Regions from separate parts of the Homo sapiens genome. Here regions 1 and 2 are each linked to region 3. Evidence: promoter capture Hi-C in 16 types of primary human blood cells and fetal thymus (Javierre and others, 2016). All regions are on one chromosome and are shown on one strand. The core of a region is centred on a gene start or on the middle of the fragment in contact, and the rest is flanking DNA. Distances in the headings are between cores, read along the strand shown.

Region 1 (4,325 bases), core at 1,339-3,838, 480 kb before region 3:
TGTCATGGGAGGGTTGTTTGCAACAATTTTAAGAACTAGCACTTGTCTACAACTATGCCCCTCCTACATGAGAATTTAAGGGTTAGGAGGTAGTCTAACAGTGGCCCAGCTCCACATATCCCCTCTGACTCTCAGTATGACAAAAAGCTGATAATCCTAATTCAAGTCTTATCTAGCCGCTTATTATTTCTCATTCCTACTATCTTTTTGTTTGCTTACATCCACGCATGATCTAAGAAATTGTCATACATCACTGGAACAGCAAGATAAACAAACCTGAAAAATATTTGATAATTACCTTCTTTCTGGTAATAAGGCCAAATATGAAGTGATACTGAAAGGACCTTTTAAGAAATGGACTTCTGGCCAGGTGTGGTGGCTTACGCCTGTAATCCCAGCACTTTGGGAGGCCGAGGTGGGTGGATCACCTGAGGTCAGGAGTTCAAGACCAGTCTGACCAACATGGTGAAACCTCGTCTCCACTAAAAATACAAAAATTAGCTGAGCATGCTGGCATGTGCCTGTAATCTCAGCTACGCGGGAGGCTGAGGCAGGAGAATCGCTTGAACCTGGGAGGTAGAGGTTGCAGTGAGCCGAGATCATGACATTACACTCCAGCCTGGGCAACAAGAGTGAAACTCTGTATCAAAAAGAAAGAAGAGGAAAGAAAGAAAGAAAGAAGGAAGGAAGGAAGGAAGGAAGGAAGGAAGGAAGGAAGGAAGGAAGGAAGGAAGGAAGGAAGGAAAGAAAGAAAAGAAAGGAAAGAAAGGAAAGAAAGAAAGGAAAGAAAGGAAAGAAAGAAAGGAAAGAAAGGAAAGAAAGAAGGAAGGAAGGAAGGAAGGAAGGAAGGAAGGAAAGAAAGAGAAAGAAAGAAATGGACTTCTGGTGGGGCGCAGTGGCTCATGCCTGTAATCCCAGCACTTTGGGAGGCCAAGGCGGGTGGATCACCTGAGGTCAGGAGTTCGAGACTAGCCTGACCAACATGATAAAACCCCGTCTCTACTGAAAAACTACACAAATTAGCCAGGTGTGGTGGTGGGCTCCTGTAATCCCAGCTACTTGGGAGGCTGAGGCAGGAGAATCGCTTGAACCCGGGACGGGGAGGTTGCAGTGAGCCGAGATCATGCCAACACACTCTTCCCTGGGCGACAGAGCAAGACTGTCTCAAAAAAAAAAAAAAAAGAACTGGACTTCTTGGTTCTGGTGTCCCTCAGGGACTATGGATATAGGAACTCTTTCTTGCTTCCATCTATTTTTCTATATGCTGACTGCTTATTAGTTTTTAAATTAAAAGAAGTTAACGCAGCTTTCTAGGTGAGGCAGTCTTTTTTTGTTCTGTGCTATCATGAAATCAGGTCTCAGGATTTTGGGGACAATGAGAAGCTTCAATATATGATCTTGACAGAATAAGGCCAGGTTACCCTCCATAACTTCCATGAAGCTCATGGTCTAAAACCGAAAGAGCTATCATTGAGCTCCCTGACATTTCTATAGAGAGCTCTTTTGGAAAAATCTCTGTAACTTACTTTTCAGAACATCCTGTCTAATCTTCCGTTATAATCCTCTCAATCAATTTCTCTAATCTTAAAGATTTTGCCTTGGACATACCAAGATAATGTATCAAGTGAGAATAAGGCTGCTTTTGTGATCATCAGATTATTAGGTCTAGATGTTTTGATTAATTATCATTCCAGTCACCTTGTCCATTTGGCTTTCCCTTTGTTTTGGCATCATAGTATATGATGCTCTGGCCTCAGATTGGCCTTGTTCATAACTTAGCTGGAGAGACCAAATATCACTGTTACATGATTCAAGAGGAATTAACAGATTAGATAGATATTCCCACCCCTGAATGAAGCTCTGCAGTCCGAGAATCTTTTCTTTCCCAAAAGATTTAAATTTTACTTATAAGTCACTAATTTGCTTGTTCACTCATTTATCCTATAAACATATATTTAACACTTACTATTAGGCTGAACTATGTGAAATTGATGACATTAGACCATTTTCACCTATAAAAATGGCAAGTTGTTCATACTGTTCAATCTAACTTTATACTTTGATAAATGAACACAATGAAACCAACCTTGTACTTCTGCTTGTAAATGCAAGTTAACAGTTATTGATTACTAGAGGTTTTTTTTAGTCTCTATTTCTCTTAAATCTTATTGTCCCTGTGACTTCAAAAGATTAGTCTTAGTATTCTAGAGTGGGGTGATCCCTATTGTTCAAGTCCTAGAACAGAACTGAACATATGAGACTAAGATGTGGTGTGTCTAAAGGTCCCACTGTCACTTTTTTGATAGTAGTTCTCCTTGTTTCCTATGAGTTTCCAAAACTCTTCATAGAATGGAAACCCAGGATTTTCTGTGTTCAACTTTAGAGACAGTAATAGCAATGGCAAGACCTGAGCAAGTTGTTGCATGCCCCCTGCCCCCACTTCCCCTGCAACCATGGAGTAGACAGCTTTGAAATGACACATATAAATAATAATCTAGAATTTATTTTTTCTAGAAGAGACTTAGACAAATCCAATATCCATCAAGGTAACACGAGTCTATCTCTGAGATGGAAAGTGTCTTCCTCTCCCTGAATAGAGACTTTAAGGATCACTAGTGAATCTGGGAATAACTGGAGAGATACTCCCAATTCATCTAGAATGACTACTAACAATGGCACTATATTTCCTTTGAGTTCTGCAGTTTAGGGCATAGTTAGAAAAGATTTAAGATGTCCTTTCCCAACATTCTTTCCAATCCATTAGCGTAGAATAACTCCAGTTCCTGGATGTTCCAGTATTGTAGTTTCAAAAAATGGTAGAAGTACTGGCAGGAAAAGTCAGGGTGGATTCCAGTGAATTTAAGCCCCTGCTATAGAATCTCTTCTGTGAGCATAATAATGGTGTCTGGGTATCTGCATCACGCCGAGCCTCCTGCTTTAGTTGGTGGAATTTGTGCTGCGTCCAGCCATATACTCCACAGTTGAGTAGACCCTGAGATGTTGCCGTTAGAGCCTGGAGGAGATGAAGGGGTGATGCAGCCCATGCTTCAGGTTTTCAGGGATCCAGGGAATAATTCTCACTCCCCTTATTCATAAAGCATTGTTATATTTTCTCTATCTCAAACATGAAGATCTGACATCAGTTTTTTATATTTTTCTAGTTCATCCTGAACTCACTGTCTACACTACACTGTTACGGATGACTGAGAGTTGGTCATACTTCTTAGTATATACATAGGGACAATGAAATAGCTTCAGTGCCCCCCCTTATTGCCTCATTTTCCAGGGTACCCTTGAGAAAACTGTCTCATCGGAATAGTCAGATAGCCCAAAAATCTTCTTAAATCCAATAAAGAAAAAAAAGAGAGATGATCATTCCATCCCCTCCTCACCATTCACCAAGAATAGCTCATTTATCCCATTCAGTTTACTCTGGATGGGAGAGAACCATGTCACTATCAATGTTTCATAAGAACATACCTGGCAGATCTTGTTTATTTTTGCTGCCCATTCCTTAAAAACACATCAGTAAAATGAAGTTGACCAGAGATATATACGCTCTGGAATGCATGGAGGTACTTTTACAACATTATCTACCTCGACTTTGAGAAAATTTTCACATTCTTCATAACTGAGTGTAAATAATACATTTTCTCTTTTGCAATGTAGAAGTACCCGGAGGGAAAAAATCATCCTTACCGAGTAAAGGTAGTATAAGAAAATAGGATAAGCGGGTGTAAGAACAGAGATACTGAATGTTGAAGGTGTTACCTGGAGAACATAAAGGGCCATGTGAAGCTTGGTGTCCTGTGGCTTAGTCAGCTTTATGATCATTAGAATGACAGCTGTGAATACACAAAGTGTAAACCTTCTTGTCAGCCCTGACTGTCTGAAGTATCAGGTTCCTCCACACACGTCTGAGCATTATCAGAATGGAAACAATAGGCATAATAAAATCCATCAGTGACGTTAACTTGTTATGCAAACCAATGAGTCTTAGGCCTCCAACTTCTAGTCTTTACTGATGAAACTTTGTAGATTATTAGTGTAGTAATGGTAGCAGGATATACTACAGGAAGGTAATAATTTATACTTCCTATCAATTCAGATTTTCCCAAGCTCTTTCATAAAAATTATCCAATCTGGGCGGGCGCAGTGGCTCATGCCTACAATCCCAGCACTTTGGGAGGCCAAGGTGGGCAGATCACCTGAGGTCAGGAGGTTGAGACCAGCCTGGCCAACATGGCGAAACCCTGTCTCTATTAAAAATACAAAAATTAGCTGGGCATGGTGGCATGCGCCTGTAATCCCAGCTACTCGGGAGG
Region 2 (4,851 bases), core at 239-2,738, 490 kb before region 3:
ATAAAAATTACCCAGGCATGGTGGCTTGCGCCTGTAGTCTCAGCTACTCGGGAAGCTGAGGTGGGAGAATCAGTGAGCCCAGGCCAAGTCAAGGCTATAGTGAGCTGTGATGGTGCCACTGCACTCCAGCCTGGGTTACAGAGTGTGACCCTGTCTCAAAAAAAAAAAAAAAAAAAAAAAAAGACCCAACAAACTAATCTGACCTCAGTTCATTTGTTTATTTTCCTATTGACTTCATTCTTTAAATTTAAACATTTACTTTTAAGAAATATTTATATGCTAGGAACTAAATGGTTAAAGATAAAAAACACAGATTCTGGATGTAGAGAAATTAGAACCCACATGCACTGCTGGTGTGAATGTAAAATGGTGCAGCCACTTTGAATCAAAGCTTGGTAGTTTCTTAAAATGCTAAATAAATGCAGAGTTATCCTATGACCTAGCACTTCCACTCATATATGCATAATATACCCAAGAAATACAAAAACATATCCATACAAAAACTTGTACATGAGTATTTATAGCATGTTACTTATACATTAAATGAAAACAATCCAAATGTCTATCATTAACTAAAATGTAGTATATCCATATAATGGACCACTATTCAGCAATAAAAAAGGAATGAGCTGAGCTGGGCACAATCGCTCACGCCTGTAATCCCAGCATTTTGATAGGTCAAGGTGGGAGAACTGCTTGAAGCCAGGAGTTCCAGACCAGCCTGGGCAACATAGTGATACTCTGTCTCTAAAAAAAAATTTAAACTTAACAGTTTGTGGTGGCATGCACCTGTGGTCCCAGCTACTCAGGAGGCTGAGGCAGGAGAATCTCCATTTTTTTTTTTTTTTTTTGAGATGGAGTCTTGCTCTGTCGCCTAGGCTGGATGGAGTGCAATGACAAGATCTCAGCTCATTGCAACCTCTGCCTCCCAGGTTCAAGGGATTCTCCTGCCTCAGCCTCCCAAATAGCTGGGATTACAGATGTGCACCACCACGCCCAGCTAATTTTTGTATTTTTAGTAGAGACGGGGTTTCACCATGTTGGCCAGGCTGGTCTGGAACTCCTGAGGTCAAGTGATCCACCTGCCTTGGCCTCCCAAAGTGCTGGGATTACAGGCATGAGCCACTGTGCCCGACCAGGAGAATCTCTTGAGCCCAGGAGTTTGAGGCTGCAGTGAGCCATGACTGCACCACTGCACTCCAGCCTGGGCGACAGAGTGAAACCCCAACAATTTTTTTTTTTTTTTTTGAGACAGTCTTGCTCTGTCACCCAGGCTGGAGTGCAGTGGTATGATCTCAGCTCACTGCAAGCTCCGCCTCCCGGGTTCACAACATTCTCCTGCCTCAGCCTCCCTGGTAGCTGGGACTACAGGTGCCCGCCACCACGTCTGGCTAATTTTGTTTTTGTATTTTTAGTAGAGATGGGGTTTCACCGTGTTAGCCAGGATGGTCTCGATCTCCTGACCTTGTGATCTGCCTGCCTTGGCCTCCCAAAGTGGTAGAATTACAGGCGTGAGCCACCACGCCCGGCCAACCCTAACTCTTAAAAAAAAAAAAAAAAAGGAATGAAATACTAACACCTGCTACAATGTGGATGAACTTTAAGAATATCATGCTAAATTGGCCAGGCACGGTGGCTCATGCCTGTAATCCCAGCACTTTGGGAGGCTGAGGTGGGCAGACCATGAGGTCAGGAGATCGAGACCATCCTGGCTAACATGACGAAACCCCGTCTCTACTAAAAATACAAAAAATTAGCTGGGTGTGGTGGCAGGCGCCTGTAGTCCCAGCTACTCCTGAGGCTGAGGCAGGAGAATGGTGTGAACTCGGGAGGCGGGGCTTGCAGTGAGCTGAGATAGCGCCACTGCACTCCAGCCTGGGTGACAGAGCGAGACTCCGTCTCAAAAAAAAAAAAAAAGATTATGCTAAATTTAAAAAGTGCAAAAACTCTATTTAAGGGTTTCCTGTGTTCCATTGATCTATGTGTGTATCTCATCAGCAATACCGCATACTATTGAAACAGAAAAGAGTGATTTCTCCAAGTTATTATTTTCCAAAATTGTTTTAGCTAGTCTTGTTCCTTTGTCTTTTAGAAAATTTATATTGTAAAATATAAATTTTAAAATTTTCTTGTCTGTATCTACAAAGAATCTTGTTCGGATTGTGATATGAATTGGGTTAAGTCTATGTATCAGTTTGAGGAGAACTGGTATCTTTATTACGTTGTGTCTTCCAATTTGTAAACATAGCAAATCTCTATTTATTTACATCTTTGATTTCTTTCATCAGTGTCTTGTGGTTTTCATTTAATAGGTCCTGTACATATTTTGTTAAATTTACATCTAAATATTTCATTTTTTGAGTGATTTTAAATTGTATTTTTATTTTGATTAAATTGTTCATTGCTAGTATACAGAAATATAATTGATTTTTATATGTTGCTACTGTATCCTGCAAGGGGGAAGATTCAGTCTTTCACCATTAAGTAAAACATTAACTATAGGCTTTTTGTAGATGTTCTTATTACATTGAGGTAGTTTTCACTCTCTACCTAGTTTTCTGGGAGTTTTTATCATGAATGGATGTAAAGCTTAGCCAAATGCTTTTTTCTGCACCAATTGATATGATCATGGGATTTTTCTTATTTAGCCTGCTAACATGGTGAATTCAATGTTTGATTTTCAAACATAAACCAATCCTGCATCCCTGGAAAAAACAAAACTTGGTCATGGTGTATAATTCTTTTTTTCACATTGCTGAATTTTATTTGCTAATATTTGGTTAAATTTTTTTTGCATCTATATTCATGAAGGATATTGGTCTGTAGTTTTCTTTTTTTGTACTGTCTTTCTCTGGTTTTGGTATCAGGGTGATGCTGGCCTCATAAAATGAATCGGATAGGGTTCCCTTTCCTTCTCTTTTATTTTTCTAGAAGAGATTGTGTAGAATTAGTGTTAATTTATTTTTAAAGGTTTGTTATAATTCTCCAGTGAAACCATCTGGGCCTGATTATTTTTCTTGGGAGATGTGAAGTTATAAATTCAATTTTCTTTTTTCTTTCTTTTTTTTTTGAGATGGAGTTTTCCCAGGCTGGAGTGCAATGGCATGATGTCGGCTCACCGCAACCTCCACCTCCTGGGTTCAAGCGATTCTCCTGCCTCAGCCTCCCAAGTAGCTGGGATTACAGGCACGTGCCACCATGCCTGGCTAATTTTGTATTTTTAGTAGAGACAGGGTTTCTCCATGTTGGTCAGGCTGGTCTCAAACTCCCAACCTCAGGTGATCCGCCCGCCTCAGCCTCCCAAAGTGCTGGGATCACAGGCATGAGCTACCGTGCCTGGCGAAATTCAATTTTCTTAATAGCTATAAAGATATTCAACTTATCTAGTTCACATTGGGTGAGATGTAGTAGTTTGTGCTTTTTGAGAAATTGGTCCATTTATCTAAGGTATCAAATGTACGTCTGTAAAGCTGTTTGTAGTGGTTCCTCATTATTCTTTTGGCATCTGTTAGGTCTGTAGTGATATATTATTTCATTCTTGATTGCCATATTGTTTTAAAACAAGAATTTAGGCTGGGCCCAGTGGCTCACGCCTGTAATCCCAGCACTTTGGGAGGCTGAGGCGGGCGGATCATGAGATCAGGAGATTGAGAACATCCTGGCTAACACAGTGAAACCCCATCTCTACTAAAAATACAAAAAATTAGCTGGGCATGGTGGCACGTGCCTGTAGTCCCAGCTACTTGGGAGGCTGAAGGAGAATCACTTGAACCAGGGAGGCAGAGGTTGCAGTGAGCCAAGATCGGGAGGCTGAAGGAGAATCACTTGAACCAGGGAGGCAGAAGTTGCAGTGAGCCAAGATCGCACCACTGCACTCCAGCCTGGGCGACAGAGCAAGACTCCACTTCAAAAAAAAAAAAAAAAAAAAAAAAAAAAAAAAAGAAGAAGAAGAAAACAAGAATTTATGACTTAAATTTTCTTTTTTGGGTGTACCTCTTAATAACTACATATCCTCTTTTCCCCTTTAATGATTTTATTTTATTTCATTTCATTTTATTTTATTATTTTTTGAGATGGAGTCTCGCTCTGTCGCCCAGGCTGGAGTGCAATGGCGCGATCTCAGCTCGCTGCAACCTCTGTCTGCCTCCTGGGTTCATGCCATTCTCCTGCCTCAGCCTCCTGAGTAGCTGGGACTCCAGGTGCCTGCCACCACGCCCAGCTAATTTTTTGTATTTTTAGTAGAGGCGGGGTTTCACCATGTTAGCCAGGATGGTCTTGATCTCCTGAACTCGTGATCCGCCCACCTCAGCCTCCCAAAGTGCTGGGATTAGAGGTGTGAGCCACTGCCTGTAAAATTAATGATTTTAATCTTGAATTTTACTTTGTTTTGAACATTGCAATCCCTGCTTTCTTCTTATTTGTTTTTGCCTGGAATATTTGTGCTCAACCTTTTAATTATATTTTCATGGTAGAAAAAGGTAAGAGGAATGGCAAATAAATTTTTTTTTTTTTTGAGATGGAGTATTGCTCTGTCACCCAGGCTGGAGTACAGTGGTGTCATCTCAGCTCACTACAACCTCCACCTTCCAGGTTAAAGTGATTCTTGTTCCTCAGCCTCCCAAGTAGCTGGGACTACAGGCGCATGCCACCAGGCCCAGCTAATTTTTGTACTTTTAGTAGAGATGGGGTTTCACCATGTTGGCCAGGCTGGTCTCGAACTCCTGATCTCAAGTGATCTGCCTGCCTGGGCCTCCCAAAGTGCTGGAATTACAGGCATGAGCCACTGTGCCTGGCCACAAGTAAATTATTTTGATGGAGCACTTAACTGCTATAACTTACTATTTATATTGA
Region 3 (4,659 bases), core at 339-2,838:
GCCTCATTCCCATATTATATGCAAAGGAACAAAGCACAGACGAGTAATTTAAATTACTTAAGATTAACAGTAAATGTTGAAGCCAAGTTACAAACCCAGAGCCCTTTATTTTCTATCAGAAATTCTCCGGTATGCAGAAACTTACAGTATCTAAGTATTCAAAAACATCTTCACAGTATTCAAGCATAAACAGAAAATCCAATTTACAGTCCCCACATCTTACCATTTTGCGAAGTTTAACCACCCGGGTACCGCCGTTCTTGTCACCACCAACTGGTTTTGTAACAGTTGCGAGAACCTTCTCCTTCTTTTTCTTTTCAACCTACAAGGACACAAATGCATCAACAGTAAGAGAATGCCAATTAAGGTTAAGACATAATGGTCCGTGGTCCTCTTCCCTTACCTTGGATTTAGCGGCTGAGTACTTCCTCTTGTACATGGCCTTTCTGGAATACATGGCAGATCGGGAATACCTGCCAATTCCTCTGACAAGGACAGGGTTGCGGCTGCAATGGGGCTTCCCCTTCTTGGGCTTTTTAGCTTTGAGGTTACCCTTTTTCACCTTGCCACCAGCATCAACCTTCTTGGCTTCGGGTTTCTTCTCTTTAGTATCTGGCTTCTCAACTTTTTCACCCGCCATCTAAAAATATTTTTTTGTAGATAAAAAAAGGCATTTCACCAGTCATCTCTCTAACAAGACAATAATGAACCTGTACATGAATGGGCTGGGCTCCCCAGACTACAATCCCTCCCCCGGTAAGATACAGGCCTTCCTCTCAAACTCTACCCATTCTACTCCAACCTTCACTATGACTCATTTGGGGTTTGTCTCCCCAATACACTATAAACTTTTTTTTTGAGAATTTGAAACTACCTCACACCTATTAGGTTTTTTGCCAAATACTGAGCGGTCAGAAGTCCGTACAACCATTATTTTTTATTACTGTTTTGCGAATTAGAAAACTTAGATGCAGAATGTGTCCACAGGTTAGAAGCACCAAGACCAGAACTTGAAATCCCTTACTTTCAGTACCTTTCGTCTTAACCCTTAAGACCAGTGTCTCTTTTCAAGAAACTCGATTTAGGAATTGCGGACACAAACGGAATCAGCCCAAATTGAGCCAGAGAAAAAGATCGCAAAGACCAAGAGGCGACTTCCGGTCGGGGACGCTGGGAGACGCGAAACCTTTTGGCTTCAGTGCGGAACCCCAACGTGGCTGCGACAGGCTCAGTGTCATCCTCTGGAACCCAGGACCAGGAACACAGTGCACGCGCCGTCTCCCCGCTTCCTCTAACACCCACCAGTCTGCTACGGGTCCCCGAAAGGGCCTCGTTCCCCCAGCCCAAGAGAGTGGCGAAGAACCGGAGGGAGCCACTACGGCATTCTACCTCACCCTCTTTGTGCCCTGCCGCAAACCCAAACAACAAAAATGAAGCGTCTGGAAGGCCTCTCAGTTAGCCTTGGACATGTCCGACCCCTGTAGGTGTCGACTGGATGCCCTCCAGGTTCGGATGGCGAAGGATTGGGAGTCCTGAACTCAAGTCTTGCAGACAGGCCCGCGATTCTTACCTTGCAAGATGGGAAAGAGAATTAAGGTCCCGGCTTCCGGTCTATAAGCAATCATGGGAAGTGCGAGTCTCACTTCCTTCCGGATCTGGGGCATCATGGGGAATGTAGTATTTCCCCGTTAAGAAAAAAGTAGTAAATCCTAGGCCGGGTGCGGTGGCTCACGCCTGTAATCCCAGCCCTTTGGGAGGCCGAGGCAGGAGGATCCTCTGAGGTTGGCAGTTCGAGACCAGCCTGGCCAACATGGTGAAATCCCGTCTCTACTAAAAATACAAAAGGTAGCCGGGCGTGGGTGGTGCGTGTCTGTAATGACAGCCAGTCGAGGCGCGGAGGCAGGAGAATCACTTGAATCTGGAGGTGGAGATTGCAGTGAGCCAAGATCGCGACACTGCGCTCTAGGCAACAGAGCAAGATTCTCAAAAAAGAAAAAAAAAAAAAAAAGGGCCGGACACGGTGGCTCACGCCTGTAATCCCAGCACTCCAAAGATCGTGCCACTGCGTGCCACCGCACTCCAGCCTGGGAAATAGAGCCAGACTCAGTCTCAAAACAATAACAACAACAAAAAAAAGAAAAAAAGAAAAAAAATTAGCCGAGTGTGGTTGTTAGTGCCTGTAGTCCCAGCTATTCGGGAGGCTAAGGCGGGAGGATCACTTGAGTCTTGGAGGTCTGGGCTGCAGTGCAGTGAACTCTAATCTTGTCACTTGAGATTAGGTCAGTGGTCCCCTCTTCCCTTACCTTGGATTTAGCGGCTGACTACTTCCTCTTGTACATGGCCTTTCTCATTCCCGTCCTCCGGCCTGGCCTACAGAATGAGACTCTGTCTTAAAAAAAGTAAAAAAAAATTAAAGTGAGGATAACAATAGTAACTTACTTCATAAGGATGTTGGGAACATTAAATAATATATACAACAGTACTGAGAAGCATATTTGATTATTTGATGGATGGTAAATGCTACATAAGTGTTAGCTCTTTTTTTTTTTTTTTTTTTTTTTTTTTTTTTTTTTTTGAGATGGAGTCTCGCTCTGTCACCCAGGCTGGAGTGTGGTGGCACGATCTTGGCTCACGGCAACCTCTGCCTCCTGGGTTCAAGTGATTCTCCTGCCTCAGCCTCCCAAGTAGCAGGGATTACAGGCGCACACCACCATGCCCAGCTAATTTTTTGTATTTTTAGTAGAGACAGAGTTTCACCATGATGGCCAAGCTGGTTTTGAACTCCTGACCTCAAGTAATCCACCCGCCTCAGCCTCCCAAAGTGCTAGGATTACAGGCGTGAGCCACCGCACCTGGCGAACTGTTAGCTCTTGTTATTGTCACCATCACCACTACAATCATCTGATCATCAACATCCTAGTTGTTGTCAAGTATTCTGCTAAAGTTTATGCATGGGAGATAATAGGCAATATTGCATACAATGTGCCTTGCTTTATTTCATTTAATTCTCCCAACAACCTGTGAATGATACTATTATGAGGAAACTGAGTCTCAAGGACATTAAGTAACTTGCTCACAGCATAGATCTGATTCCAAAGATTGCACTCTTAACCATTAGGCTGCAAGATTAAAGAGATGATTAATGAAGATGCATGAGAGTTTTGCTCATGTTAGAATTAAAAATAAGAATATTTATTATCTTTTACAAAATACACAACACAGTATATGTGATAGTTCTTTACTGCTTCAAAGCCCTTAAGCCAACATGTACACATTTGTAATACCTTCTAGCTTGCGTTTTCCATTTTCCTCCATTCGTTTCTTTCTGGTTGCTAGAGCTTTTCACCTTGATTTTTTCAGATCGAAACCACCTGCTTCATGGCTGTGTCTCTGGGAATCATTTAGCCTTTTTCTGGTTCTGATTCACTGAGGATACAAATACAATGATCAGATGAACACTGCCCTTTTTTTTGAGAATGGGAATGTCAGCAGCTTTATTTGTTTAGCTTCCTCAGCAAAGCACCTCTTAGAAACTTCAACTGCAGAAAATGTACCACAATGAATGAATGAGATGCACAGTTGCTTACGTGGGCCCCTCAAAATTGCTGGCAATCTCAGATAATTTCACCTAGTGAACGCCCCAAAATATGTGTTGAATGACCTGTCATTAAAATAAAAACGTAGATGAACCCCCTCTTGTGTTTTGTTGCGGTATTGCAAAATTTACAATTCATTAGTTGGGCAAAATACCATGTTAGTTATAAAGTAAATGTTTTTATTAAGTTTAGTTTTGCCATATATAAAATTCTCTGAAATTTGTGCAGCACTTTAATCACAAAGCAGACATTTTTGCAGACACTTAATCTTTTTTTTTTTTTTCTGAGATGGAGTCTTGCTCTGTCGCCCAGGCTGGAGTGCAGTGCCGTGATCTTGGCTCACTGCAACCTCTGCCTCCTGGGTTCAAGCCATTCTCCTGCCTCAGCCTCTTGAGTAGCTGGGATTACAGGTGCCCGCTACCACACCTGGCTAATTTTTTTTTTTGAAACAGAGTCTTGCTCTTTTGCCCAGGCTGGAGCGCGGTGGCATGATCTCGGCTCACTGCAACCTTCGCCTCCCGGGTTCACGCCATTCTCCTGCCTCAGCCTCCCGAGTAGCTGGGACTACAGGCGCCCGCCACCATGCCTGACTAATTTTTTGTATTTTTAGTAGAGGTGGGGTTTCACTGTGTTAGCCAGGATGGTCTCGATCTCCTGACCTCGTGATCTGCCCGCCTCGACCTCCCAAAGTGCTGGGATTACAGGCCTGAGCCACCTTGCCCGGCCAATTTTTTGTGTTTTTATTGGAGACAGGATTTCACCATGTTGGCCAGGCTGGTTTTGAACTCCTGACCTCAGGTGATCTGCTCACCTCGGCCTCCCAAAGTGCTGGGATTACAGGCGTGAGCCACCTCGCCCAGCCTAATTTTTTTTTTTTTTTGGAGACAGAGTCTCGCTCTGTCGCCCAGGCTGGAATGCAAGGTGAGATCATGGCTCACTGCAGCCTTGACCTCCTGGGTTCAAGCAATCCTCCCACCTCAGCCCCCTGAGTAGCTGGGAGTACAGTGCACACCACCATACCTGGCTAATTTTTTTACATTTTTTGTAGAGACAGGGTCTCACA

The links. The method cuts DNA at HindIII sites, captures the fragments that hold promoters and counts their contacts. A CHiCAGO score of 5 or more calls a contact.
Region 1: a fragment that was not itself captured here is called in contact with the fragment with the promoter of RPL6 in region 3 in 1 of 17 cell types (endothelial precursors); the score reaches 6.3 in endothelial precursors.
Region 2: a contact is called between a fragment that was not itself captured here and the fragment with the promoter of RPL6 in region 3, in 1 of 17 cell types (endothelial precursors). The highest score is 5.3, in endothelial precursors.

What each region holds. Positions count from the first base shown.
Region 1 is chr12:111,928,815-111,933,139 of GRCh38, forward strand. It overlaps TMEM116 (transmembrane protein 116), which reads right to left. Exons shown (of 11, transcript NM_001193531.2): 10 at 3,772-3,845; 11 at 2,484-3,013. The coding sequence ends at 2,807. It also overlaps the pseudogene ADAM1B. Among named protein-coding and RNA genes, the nearest start is that of TMEM116, 82 kb to the right of the region's middle. The HindIII fragment of the contact is 2,415 bases long and covers 1,382-3,796 here.
Region 2 is chr12:111,913,399-111,918,249 of GRCh38, forward strand. No RefSeq gene overlaps it. Among named protein-coding and RNA genes, the nearest start is that of MAPKAPK5-AS1, 73 kb to the left of the region's middle. The HindIII fragment of the contact is 2,198 bases long and covers 390-2,587 here.
Region 3 is chr12:112,408,017-112,412,675 of GRCh38, forward strand. It overlaps RPL6 (ribosomal protein L6), which reads right to left and starts at 1,589. Exons shown (of 7, transcript NM_000970.6): 1 at 1,571-1,589; 2 at 404-640; 3 at 224-322. The coding sequence starts at 640. RefSeq lists an enhancer at 1,220-1,399. The HindIII fragment of the contact is 30,731 bases long and covers 1-4,659 here.